Linked DNA regions of Homo sapiens: regions 1, 3 and 4 are each linked to region 2. The links are contacts of gene promoters, found by promoter capture Hi-C in blood cells and fetal thymus (Javierre and others, 2016). All regions are on one chromosome and are shown on one strand. The core of a region is centred on a gene start or on the middle of the fragment in contact, and the rest is flanking DNA. Distances in the headings are between cores, read along the strand shown.

Region 1 (2,828 bases), core at 283-2,782, 490 kb after region 2:
GTACTTGTAATTTTGTATTTTTTCAGAGGATACTTCAAAAATTATATAAGCTTCAGTCCCCATAGAATGAAAATATGGTGGAGGAAAGAGAGGACACTGTGTGAAGGAGATATGTGTGTCTGTAGGTGTATGTGCAGGTGCATGGGAGGGAAAGAGAGACAGAGACACACACATAGACAGAGAGAGACCAACTAAATACAATGGTAGAGAGAGGAAGCGAGAGAGATGGGGAGAAAAAGAGAGAGAGAGATGAACTAAAGACAATGGTAGAGAGAGGAAATGAGAGAGATTTTGTTCTGATATAATTTTTTTTTTTTTGAAACCAGGTATTGCTGTGTCACCCAGGCTGGAGTGTAGTGGTGCCATCACGGCCCACTGCAGCCTCAACCTCCCCAGGCTCAGGTGATCCTCCCCCCTCAGTTTTTGTTTTTTTCCTTTTTGTGGAGAATGGGTCTTGCTGTATTGCCCAGGCAGGTCTCAAACTCCTGGGCTCAGGCTATCCTCCTGCCTCTGCCTCCCTAAGAGCTGGGATTACAGGTGTGAGACACCGTGCCCACCCACAGTTTTTACATTTTTAGTAGAGACGAGGTTTTGCCATGTTGCCCAGGCTGGACTCCAAATCCTGGGCTCAAGCGATTCACCCTCCTTGGCGTCCCAAAGTGCTAAGATTACAGGCATGGGCCACTGAGTCAAGCCTGTACTGATATAATTCTCAAATTATCAGTTACCAAGAAATTTGCCACAAGCAATAATATCCACAATACCAAGAAACTGAAGGAGAGTAATAAGTATGGCATACAGTCTAGCAATTCTAAACTTTGGTATCTATCCTAGAGAAATGCTTGCACATGTACATAAAGACATATCCCTGAAACACTGTAAAAATGAAAAACTGGAAGCAATCTATATGTCAAATTAGTAGAGTAATGGATAAAGTGTCATATACTCACATAAAAACTCTACAGCAATAAAAGGGAATTAGATTTATATGTATCAACATGGACACATTTCAAAATATATACTTTTTAATATAAAATCAAATTGTATAACTATTCTTAGTTTATTTTTATATTAATACATTTATGTATGTATTTAATATATTGTGTTTATGTAATACATTTGCACTCAAAATATTATTACATATTCTCTATAGAAAAAATGCATGTAAAATACAAAAATGGCTTGAAAGGACATTATACACTGCACAAGCGCATACGAGTAGTTAACTCTGGAGGATAAAGGATAAAGCAACAAGACTGAGAGAGATAAACGTCAAATGCACACTAATTTTATTTGTATTATTCTCACTTTTAAAAAGGGAATGTAATCATATGTTTCACATGTAATTTATTTTTTATTTTGAAGCAGAGTCTCACTCTGTTGCCCAGGCTGGAGTGCAGTGGCAGTCTCGGCTCACTGCAACCTCCACCTCCTGGGTACAAGCAATTCTCATGACTCAGCCTCCTGAGTAGCTGGGACCCCAGGCACACACCACCACGCCCAGCTAATCTTTTTGTAATTTTAGTAGAGACAGGGTTTCGCCATGTTGGCCAGGCTGGTCTTGAACTCCTGGCCTCAAGTGATCCGCCTGCCTCCCAAAGTGCTGGGATTACAGGCATGAGCCACTGTGCCCGGCCCCACGTGTAATTTTTTAAAAAGTAGATAATAGGAAAGAACAAAAACTAGAAGATATGTCAAATTGCCATGTGTTAATTTTTTTTGATTGTAGGAATGTGGATGAATGGTGACTGGTTTCTGCTCTGTGCTTTTTGGATATTCAAATTTCCTAAATAACAAAAATACAAAAATAATTTTAATTCTAAAAAAAAATTATATCTACTAATGAAAGCAGTGGAAATGAGAACTTAAAACCAGCCCGTTTCTGGGGGAGCTCGGCAGCATCCCAGCTTGTTAGAACAATGCTAGGATGAAAGTGCCACTCTAGGAGACTGATACCAAAAGACTCGTTTTATAATTTAGGTAGCTGGTTTCTGAAGTTTTACCACAGTTCTGACAACTACCAATTTTCTTTCCTTTGGGAAGTAACGGGGTAGGAGAAGAAACATTCGTCCACTCCCGAAGTCCTCCCAGAGCTCTGCTTATGTTCCTGGCCTTCCCTGGGCAAGAAGGACTGTGAGTTCAATAAGCACAGACTTCCAGCAAAGGAGATTACACAGTGCTTTAGCAACTCATTCATCTTTCTGAAACTGAAGGTCAGTTCTTCTGGAACAATTTAATACTGTTTTCTCATTTTACATCCTTGAAAGCGATGAAGGCCCATTCATCTTTAGGCTCTCTATTGTAACACATCACAAAGAACACTTGAAATGTTACATTAATTGTGATTATTTTTTTGAATCTTTCCGTCAGTTTTTGCACCCAATAAATAGAAATTTTAGAAAGAGGCCAGTCTGTTGAGACACTGATCCAGCATATAGAAATGAAATCAGTAAAGGTGCTTAGAACCATAGCTGGTGTGTGGTAAATGCTGTTGTATTAGCTATTACTACCAATTCTACAGCTACTACTATGCAGTTCCAATGTTAATACTACTACAGTAAGAAGCAGCAGACATTTTGATCATTTTAAACTTTTGTATGATGTTTGAAACAAATGTTTAAAAACGAAAAACATTTTTAAACATTCTCTCAAGAAGGTTTTCATATCTCCAGCAGAAGCCTGCTGTATGGGGTTTTAGTTCCTCCGTGGGAGGGGCACTGGTTTTCCTCAGATCCCTAATCCCTGCCTAGATCTGTTCCACCAATTCTTTAACAAGATTGATTAGAAAGTGTGTGGTTTTGCTCAGCGTTTGGGGGGATAGAATGGGA
Region 2 (3,142 bases), core at 59-2,558:
ACCTTGGAGGAAAAGAACACTTTGGTAAGATACACGTTTGGCAACTTTTTTAGGCAGAAAAGCTGAACCGGTTAGAATACTTAAAAAAAAAAATCATGAGCTCCAGTCTAAAGAATAAAATAAAAATAAATTAAATAATAATAAAAAATAATAAACTAAAAAAAAAAAAAATAAACTCCAAAAACAACTAGCTAAAATGAAAGTAATGCAGAACTGGATGCCATGTTTCTTTTCTTTGAGGAGGAAGAGGTATGGGAAAGGAGGTACATTGTTGCTTCTTCCCTACACCTTTGTATAATGTAGATCTCTCTCTCTCTCTCAATAGCTTTCTTTTCACTTGTTACATAAAAGCAAAGTGTTACAAAAAGTAGACTCTTGCGGTATCTTCCCACAGTACTTCAAGTAAAATGGAAGAGATACATATGTCAGTTCTGCAGTGTCCCGTTAAAGAGGGCAGCAGTGTTGGGATAAAAATGAGTTAACATGCTCCTTGTAACTATGAATCCGCTTATGCTAAAAAGTATCAAGGTTTCATTTGCTTTATCCCAGACTCCACACTGCGCCCACAGAAGCTTCTCTTGAGAATGTTCTGTTCACCTTTCAAAACACAATGTATTATCGGAGTCACTTTACAATTTTGTGGCAAGTAAGGCTAAAGTCAAAAGCAGCCTCAAACCACCTTTAGTTAGTAAACTGAGGGGTTTGAGGCTCATTAAAAGTAAGAGGATCGGTTACCCCCTCTTGCCAACGTCCGGGATGAATCTCAAGAGTTGTGTTTACAAGGCATACACGGACCCACATCGTTGTGTGCGCCCGAGTACCTTAAACACAGGAAGGATGTCGACCTACGGGGGACGTCTCTGGAGTTTCGTGAACTCCTATGAAAAGGTGGGGAGGGACAGAGAAAGTAGTTCCGTTTTGATTTTTTGAGGTCACTTCTAGGGACTCGACCGCGAGCGCGTCCCGGTAGCGGAAAGCCGGGCCAGCGGCGGCCGACAACGGTCCCGCCCGACACGGCTCTGCCTCCTCCCTAGAAGGGCTCGTGGGCCAGGACCCGCTGTCCGCCCGCCGCCCGAGGTCGGGTGGACGCTTGGCCCCGCCCCCGCCCGCTCCCGACGACCCTCGGAGGCGGCGGAGGCGCGCGACTCACATGTGTGGGTTCCTCCTGAAGGCGTTAGTGATGTCCTTCACAACCCGCTGCACCAGCACCGCCACCTCCTCGCTGGTCTCGGCCATGTTGGCGGCGGCCGCGACAGTTCGGGCGCGCCTCCGCGTGAGCCGGGCCGCCGGCGGGAGTTCCGCGGAGAACGAGCGCGCGCGCGCGCGCGCGGGTGCTTCGGCTAGGCCGCGTCCCCGCCGCCGCGGCCGCCGCCGAGCACTTCCGGGTCAGCCAGTTGGCGGCCTGGGCGTGGCGTTAGCTAGGGTTGGTGGCCTTCCAGTGAGTGGAGAAGTTCGCCTCCGCGCGGGTAACGGACTTTCTAAGCGTCAGAGAAGATGCTGGACATTTGTTTGCAAAGTTCTCTCAGGCCTCCGATTTTCTTATTTTAAGTTTTAGGCGAAACCTCAAGACACACTCCCAGAGAGTCAGACACCTTCCTGAACCCCCCCAGCAAGGTCCCCGGGCATTCCTGAAGGAATGTTCAACTGAGGATGCAGGGCCTCTTAACAGTTAGTCCCGGGCGTTTTTCAGAGCTTGTCTGCTTTATTTTCCCAGCCTGAGAGATGAAGAGGTCCAGAGGCATTGCGGCGGAGCGAGTCCCTATTTGACCGTGTTGGTGACCTCCTTTCTAACTGTGCCAATTTTTGTCTCTGAACTTGAAAGCAGCCTTTTTAAAAAACATTAATTAAAATTCTTAAATTTATTAAAGGAAGAGAAAGGAAAGTGAAGGAAAAGTTATTTGCCATCTGTATGTAGGAAGTAGAAGTGAAATCGTTTTTAGATTTTTCGACTTCATTTTGTACTGCATTTGGTAGCCTTTGCGTCAATTTTGGAATTTAAAAAAAAGGATCAAGGCTCTGACAGGGTTTGTTCATAATAGCAAAAATAAATTTTTGTAGGAAAAACGAGCTTTCTAGTTTATTTAGGATTTTGAAATGCCATAACTAAAATTTTTGTGTATCAGGTTTTCTTTTGCACCTCTGGTAGAAAAATCTGGCTGCCCTTGGTTCAGTTTTATTCTTCCACCCTTGAAATCTGGCCAGGTGCGGTGGCTCACGCCTGTAATCCCAGCACTTTGGGGGGCCAAGGCGGGCGGATCACAAGGTCAGGAGATCGAGACCATCCTGGCTAACACGGTGAAACCCCGTCTCTACTAAAAATACAAAAAAAAAAAAAAAAAAAAAAAAGCCGGGCGTGGTGGCGGGCGCCTGTAATCCCAGCTACTCCCCACTGCACTCCAGCCTGGGCGACAGAGCGAGACTCCGTCTTTAAAAAAAGGCCGGGCGCGGTGGCTCACGCCTGTAATCCCAGCACCTTGGGAGGCCGAGGCGGGTGGATCATGAGGTCAGGAGATCGAGACCATCCTGGCTAACAAGGTGAAACCCCGTCTCTACTAAAAATACAAAAAATTAGCTGGGCGCGGTGGCGGGCGCCTGTAGTCCCAGCTACTCGGGAGGCTGAGGCAGGAGAATGGCGTGAACCCGGGAAGCGGAGCTTGCAGTGAGCCGAGATTGCGCCACTGCAGTCCGCAGTCCGGCCTGGGCGACAGAGCGAGACTCTGTCTCAAAAAAAAAAAAAAAGAAATCTGTATCTTTAAAAAGCTATTAAAAAAATAAACTCATGGTGTGTTTAATGTGAACATATGCGGAGCGTTTGAAGTAGTTTTTATGATTGTAAAAGTAAAAGCTATCTATTGCATGTAAAGTGAATGAGAAATATAAACGAAAAATATAAATTTACTATACTCAGTGGCCAGTATTTCCTGTGGGTATGTTTATAAAGGCTGGAGTTAGCCTTCTGGTTGTAAAAGAAGTGAGATAGGACCGGGCACGGTGGCTTACACCTGTAATCCCAGCACTTTGGGAGGCAGAGGCGGAAGGATCACGAGGTCAGGAGTTCGAGACCATCGTGGCCAAGACAGTGAAACGCCGTCTCTACTAAAAATATAAAATTAGCTGGGCGTGGTGGCACGTGCTTGTAATC
Region 3 (2,785 bases), core at 199-2,698, 510 kb after region 2:
GGCAGCTATTTTTGATAGACTAGAGTTGATGTTTATGATGAAACCAGTTGACCATCCTTGGTATATATAATTTTAATCCTTTACACATAAATATGCACATTATTTAGGTGATTTTTAGAGACTGTTGCTGTTGGAATATTAGTGGAAAGTTGTGGCATTTTTGAGCTGAAAAGCCTTTAAAGATTATCTGATAGCCCTACTATTTGATATGAGATGAGGAAACGTTCTTTTATAAAAAATTACTCAGTTTTTATTTATATAGAGATGAGAAAGATAAACATGGAAGTAAAAAGAAAATAAATTTTGAAATACCCAACTTATTAAAATATGATAGAATTTTGTTGAAGAATATAAAATCAAGACCTGAAGAAATGGAGGTGCGTGATACGTTCCTAGAAACATAAAGTTAATGTCATTATTAACATGTCAGACCAGGTGCAGTGGCTCATGTGCGTAATCCCAGCACTATGGGAGGCCAAGGCAAGTGATTGCTTGAGTCCAGCAGTTGGAGACCAGCCTGAGCAACATGGCAAAACCCCATCTCTACAAAAAATACAAAAATTAGCCAGGCCTGGCTGCGCACCTGTAGTCCTAGCTACTTAGGAAACTGAGATGAGAGGATCACCTGAGCCTGGGGAGGTAGAGGATGTAGTGAGCCATGATTGTGCCACCGCACTCCAGCCTGGGTGACAGAGTGAGACTCTGTCTGCAAAAAAAACAAAAACAAAAAAAGTCAATCCTTTGTAAATTAATACATACATTTGATACAATTACAATGAGAGTCTCAACAGGTAAGTTTACAAGTTGATTCTAAACTTCATCTTGAAGAATAAATGTGCCAGAAAACCCAAGGAGATTTTGAAAAAGCAAAGTTGTAAATAAGATTTTTGTCTACCACATGTTGAAGTATACTGTAAAGTTGTTGATTTAAAAATAAGCGTGATACTGGTATAGAAGATGAGAGGAGCAGAATGTAGAAACCAGGAACAGATCGAAATGTACATGAGAACTTATTATAAAAGTGGCAGTTTAATTAAGTGTGGGATATTTTAAGAGATAGGAAAAACCAAAGTTGTTTTTGCTATTCTCAAACTCAACACAGCACAGAACACTTCTACACCAGATGTGTGGGGTTTTTTCCCCACACCCTGCAATTCAGTTCAATTCTGACACTAACCAAAAATTAGTGCAGGACCCATAGTTTAGGGGCTCAGTCACACAGGACTGCCCTCCACTTTATATGCCATTTGTAAGTCTTAGGTTGTGCCCTGTACTTCTGACCAACCAGCTGTAAATTGAGGTTCTCAGGACCCCTTTCTTGGTCCAGTTATTTGCTAGGATGGGAAACACTTAGGTTTACCCATGTATTATAAAGGATACTACAGAAGATGCAGATGATTAGCAAAATACAGGGCGAGGTCTGGAAGGGTCCGGAGTGCAGGAGCTTCTTTCCCCACTTTCCCAGCATATGGATGTGTTTCGTAATCTGGGAACTCTCTGAAACCCATGGTTCAGGGAATTTTATGGAGGCTTCATCACATGGGTATAAGAAACTCAATCTCTAGCCCTGCTTCCCTTCCCAGAGGATGGGGAGTAGGTTGGTGGGGCTGAAGGTTCTAAGTTTCTGTTCATGGCTTTATCTTTCTGGTGACCAGCCCACATCCAGGAGCCCAACAAGAGTTGCCTCATTAGAAAAAGACACACTTGTCACCTAGGAAATTCCAAGGGATTAGGAGTTCTGTGTCAGGAATTGAGGACAGAGACTAAATAATTTTTTTTTTTTTTTTTTTTTTTTGGGACGGAGTGTCACTGTCGCCCAGGCTGGGGTGCAGTGGTGCAATCTCGGCTCACTGCAACCTCTGTCTCCCGAGCTCAAGTGATTCTTCCACCTCAGCCTTCCAAGTAGCTGGTATTACAAGCACCCACCACCACACCTGGCTAATTTTTGTATTTTTAGTAGAGACAGGGTTTCGCCATGTTGGCCAGGCTGGTCTTGAACTCCTGACCTCAAGTGATCCGCCCGCCTTGGCCTCCCACAGTGCTGGGATTACAGGTGTGAGCCACCATACCCGGCCTACATATTTCTTAATACAGGCTGAGTATCCCTTATCTGCAACACTTGGGACCAGAAGTGTTTTGGATTTTGGATTTGTTTTGAGTTTAGAATATTTGCATTATACTTATCGGTTCAACATCCCCAATCTGAAAATCTGAAATATGAAACACCCCAATGACCATTACCATTGAATGTCATGTTGGCACACAAGAAGTTTTGGATTTTGGAGCATTTTGGATTTTGGAGTATACAGGGATACTCAACCTGTATATCACAGTATCATAATGTAAATTATTCAAATTGAGCTGTGATAATTATCTTATTATATAACTTTAAAAAAGTTAATTTTTTAAAGATAAATTTAGAGCTTTACCTAACACCCTACACATAAATAAAATTTAAGTATATAAACGTCAAGCACTTTTTCCACGAAGGTTCACATGGCCTTGAGAGTACCAAATGTAAAACAGCTCATCATTAGTTGTTGAAATTATTGCCATTAAACAAGTATACTAACTGGCCATGTATTCCTTGAGTAGAATGGTGGGTAGAATAATCTCTGGCATGTATTTATGTAGTCATTTTCCAAATATTTATTGAGTACCTATACATTGGGGATACTCTTCCCTCATGGAATTTATAGTTAGGGGCATAAGGAGGGACAGTTAGATAAGTAAAATGTATATATGTTAGGTGGTGATAAGTGCTACATAGAAAAATAAAGCAGAA
Region 4 (2,887 bases), core at 181-2,680, 330 kb before region 2:
ATTTTATTTATTTTGAGATAGGGTCTCGCTCTGTTGCCCAGGCTGGAGGGCAGTGTCCATGCTTTATTTTTTCTGCAGAGCACTAATTACCAACCAACTGCCCTCCTCCTGCCCACAACTAGAGATGCAAATGATTTCTATTTGGTAGAAAGATAACCCTAAAGGTTATAATTGTATTGCCTTAAGGACATTAGCCAGTTTTGTTTTATTTTATTTTATTGTTGAGACGGAGTCTCGCTCTGTCACCCAGGCTGTAGTGCAGTGGTGCAATCTCGGCTCACTGCAACCTCCGCTTCCTGGGTTCAAGCGATTCTCATGCCTCAGTCTCCCATGTTGCTGGGATTACAGATGCCCACCACTATGCCTAATTTTTGTGTTTTTGGTAGAGGTGGGGTTTCACCACGTTGGCCAGGCTGGTTTCAATCTCCTGACCTCAGATGATCCACCCGCCTCGGCTTCCCAAAGTTCTGGGATTACAGGTGTGAGCCACCATGCCCAGTCGCAACCGGTTTTACTTCAAACCTAGTAATTTTATTCTAACATTCTTTTAAAAATGTCTATAAATACTTAGGTCCTCCAAATACTTTTTGGACCAGCTTTACCATCTTACTTGTTTCATCATTAATGATTAATAAATCTCTGATATGTGTTCATTCCATCTTTGTTATGGGAGTTATGTTTTTTAACTTTTAAAAAAGTATGCATTGGCATCTAGAAGTTTTTCCCAGGGGCTAAAATCTGCTTTTGGATGAAATTCAGTACATCAGTAGTTTAGGACTTCGGGTGTTTGGGGGCGACCTGCACTAAGCCATGCAAGTGCGTGCGGAGCCTCTTGAGTTGTGGCTCCCGTTGGTGTACCCAGGGGGTCTGGAAATTCCAGGAAGCTTATGAGGACCTGGATCTGCTGGGCCCCAGGAACGGCCAGTACTTCCTCAGCAACCACTATGCGCCATGCACATTCTGAAAGCTTTCTATGTGTTAGCTTATCCTCACACGGTCTCCCTGAGATAAACACTAGTTTGCAGATGAGGAAACAAGCTCAGAGGGTTTAAGGAACTCTGAGGATCACAGTTTAAGCAAAAATTATAGAAGAAAGACCTAAATAAAGTGGTTCTATGTGCATCAAGGTGGTTAAATGGTTTTTTTCTCTAGTTCTGCAATTTCATCTAAGATCAAAGCCAAGAGGGGGAAGCTAAGGTATAGTCTATGGTAGGAGCAGCCTTGCCTGTGGGGGCAGACCACACCCACACAGGCAGATACCATCCATCAGGGGACTGTGGTCTCCTGTGGGACAGACAGACTTCCAGGGAGCTTGCTGAGAGGTGCCAGTTCAAAGACTAGACCCTCCCACCAGCTGTCTTCCCACCGTCATCCTGGTGATGTGAGAGGGGTGTTGTCATTGGCGGGGGATGGGTGCAGAATTCAGGAAAGGAGCTACTTACTCGCCACTCCACTCTGGGAGGCAAGGGAATATTGACCTCGTCAAGGGAGGCGAATCCCAAGAGCATCACTGTGAAGGCTGGGGGCCTGTGCCCTCCACTTGCCTCCCCACACACTGAACTGGGTGCTGGTAACGTCTTATCTACATGTGGCCGAGGGACCGGACCAGCAGAAGGTGTGGTGCTGTGGGTGGTGAGAGAGATAATAGGAAGCAATGGCTCTGGGATGGGCAGGGGAGAGACAGCCAGGGGTGCCCCTCCCTTCCTCTGAGGGTGAGGAGGATGGTTGCTGGATGCTTCAGGAGCTTGCTGGCTGGGGAGATGGTGGCTGCAGGCGGCTGGGGACACAACCTGTGTGGAAGAGGTGTGCACTTTAGAGGTGTGCACAGATTGGTACCAGTCTGTGGCCTGTTAGGAACTGTGCCACACAGCAGGAGGCGAGCAACAAGTGAACAAAGCTTCATGTGTATTTACAGCCGCTCGCCGTCGCTGGCTCACATTACCGCCTGAGCTCCGCCTCCTGTCAGATCTGCGGCAGCATTAGATTCTCATAGGAGTGTGAACCCTATCGTGAACTGTGCATGCGAGGGATCTAGGTTGCAGGCTCCTTATGAGAATCTAATGCCTGATGATCTGTCACTGTCTCCCATCAGCCCTAGAAGGGACCATTGAGTTGCAGGAAAACCAGTTCAGGGCTCCCACTGAATTATACAGTTCACCATAGAATTGTGAACTGTATAATTATACAATTCTATGGTGAATTGTATAATTATTTCATTATATAACAATCAGAGAAATAAAGTGCACAATAAATATAATGTGCTTGAATCATCCCCCTCCGTGGCACCCGGTCTCTGGAAAGACTGTCTTCCATGAAACTGGTCCCTGGTGCCAAAAAAGGTGGAGACTGCTGCTTTAGAGGACTGTGGCTAAGGGGTCAGCTGGAAGATGGGGCCCAGGGCTCAGGGACCCTGAATGCCCGGTTGCTGCCAATTGTTTGTCTTCATTGATCTCCTGGTCAGTGGACCAGATCAGCAGAATGAACCAGCAAGGCGAGGACTGTGACCTTCCCAAGGGCAACTCTTAATGTAGGGGAACCTCTGTGCACCTCCTACCCATGCCCCTTCCCATAAAGGGACTCAAAGAAGGAGACAGGGAGGGAGGGAGGGAGCTGAGAGCAAGTCCCGCTCTCCTAGGCCAGTGCTCAATTCCAGTCTGGGGATGGGGAAGTAGGGCAGACTGATTTGAATAAGAGATGTGGTTTGCAAATCAATGGAAGAAAACCAGGAAGGAAAACATTATAAGAACCAAAAGAGACCCAAAAGTCTAACGCTGAGTTCATCCGTGTGCGATGACAAGCCTGTCCCAGGTGGGTGCAGGTGGGAGTTGTTGGAAAGCTGAGCATAAGTGCTTGAACCCTCTGTGCCCGTTTCCTCCTGTATAAAATG

The links. Contacts are between HindIII fragments. The CHiCAGO score rates a contact against its expected background, and 5 or more counts as called.
Region 1: a contact is called between a fragment that was not itself captured here and the fragment with the promoter of PTAR1 in region 2, in 6 of 17 cell types (non-activated CD4 T cells, total CD8 T cells, naive CD8 T cells and 3 more). The highest score is 8.6, in non-activated CD4 T cells.
Region 3: a fragment that was not itself captured here is called in contact with the fragment with the promoter of PTAR1 in region 2 in 3 of 17 cell types (total CD8 T cells, non-activated CD4 T cells and naive CD4 T cells); the score reaches 7.8 in total CD8 T cells.
Region 4: a contact is called between a fragment that was not itself captured here and the fragment with the promoter of PTAR1 in region 2, in 1 of 17 cell types (endothelial precursors). The highest score is 5.3, in endothelial precursors.

What each region holds. Positions count from the first base shown.
Region 1 is chr9:70,250,514-70,253,341 of GRCh38, forward strand. The region is part of intron 2 of SMC5-DT (SMC5 divergent transcript); the gene reads right to left. Among named protein-coding and RNA genes, the nearest start is that of SMC5-DT, 6.9 kb to the right of the region's middle. The HindIII fragment of the contact is 2,969 bases long and covers 49-2,828 here.
Region 2 is chr9:69,758,703-69,761,844 of GRCh38, forward strand. PTAR1 (protein prenyltransferase alpha subunit repeat containing 1) reads right to left here and starts at 1,309. Exons shown (of 8, transcript NM_001099666.2): 1 at 1,151-1,309. The coding sequence starts at 1,236. It overlaps LOC105376076 (a long non-coding RNA gene), which reads left to right and starts at 1,393. Exons shown (of 4, transcript XR_929910.3): 1 at 1,393-1,771. RefSeq lists enhancers at 807-856, 2,331-3,142 and a silencer at 997-1,466. The HindIII fragment of the contact is 9,606 bases long and covers 571-3,142 here.
Region 3 is chr9:70,268,872-70,271,656 of GRCh38, forward strand. All of the region lies in intron 3 of SMC5 (structural maintenance of chromosomes 5), which reads left to right. Among named protein-coding and RNA genes, the nearest start is that of SMC5, 11 kb to the left of the region's middle. The HindIII fragment of the contact is 5,613 bases long and covers 1-2,785 here.
Region 4 is chr9:69,423,704-69,426,590 of GRCh38, forward strand. No RefSeq gene overlaps it. Among named protein-coding and RNA genes, the nearest start is that of ENTREP1, 100 kb to the left of the region's middle. The HindIII fragment of the contact is 930 bases long and covers 966-1,895 here.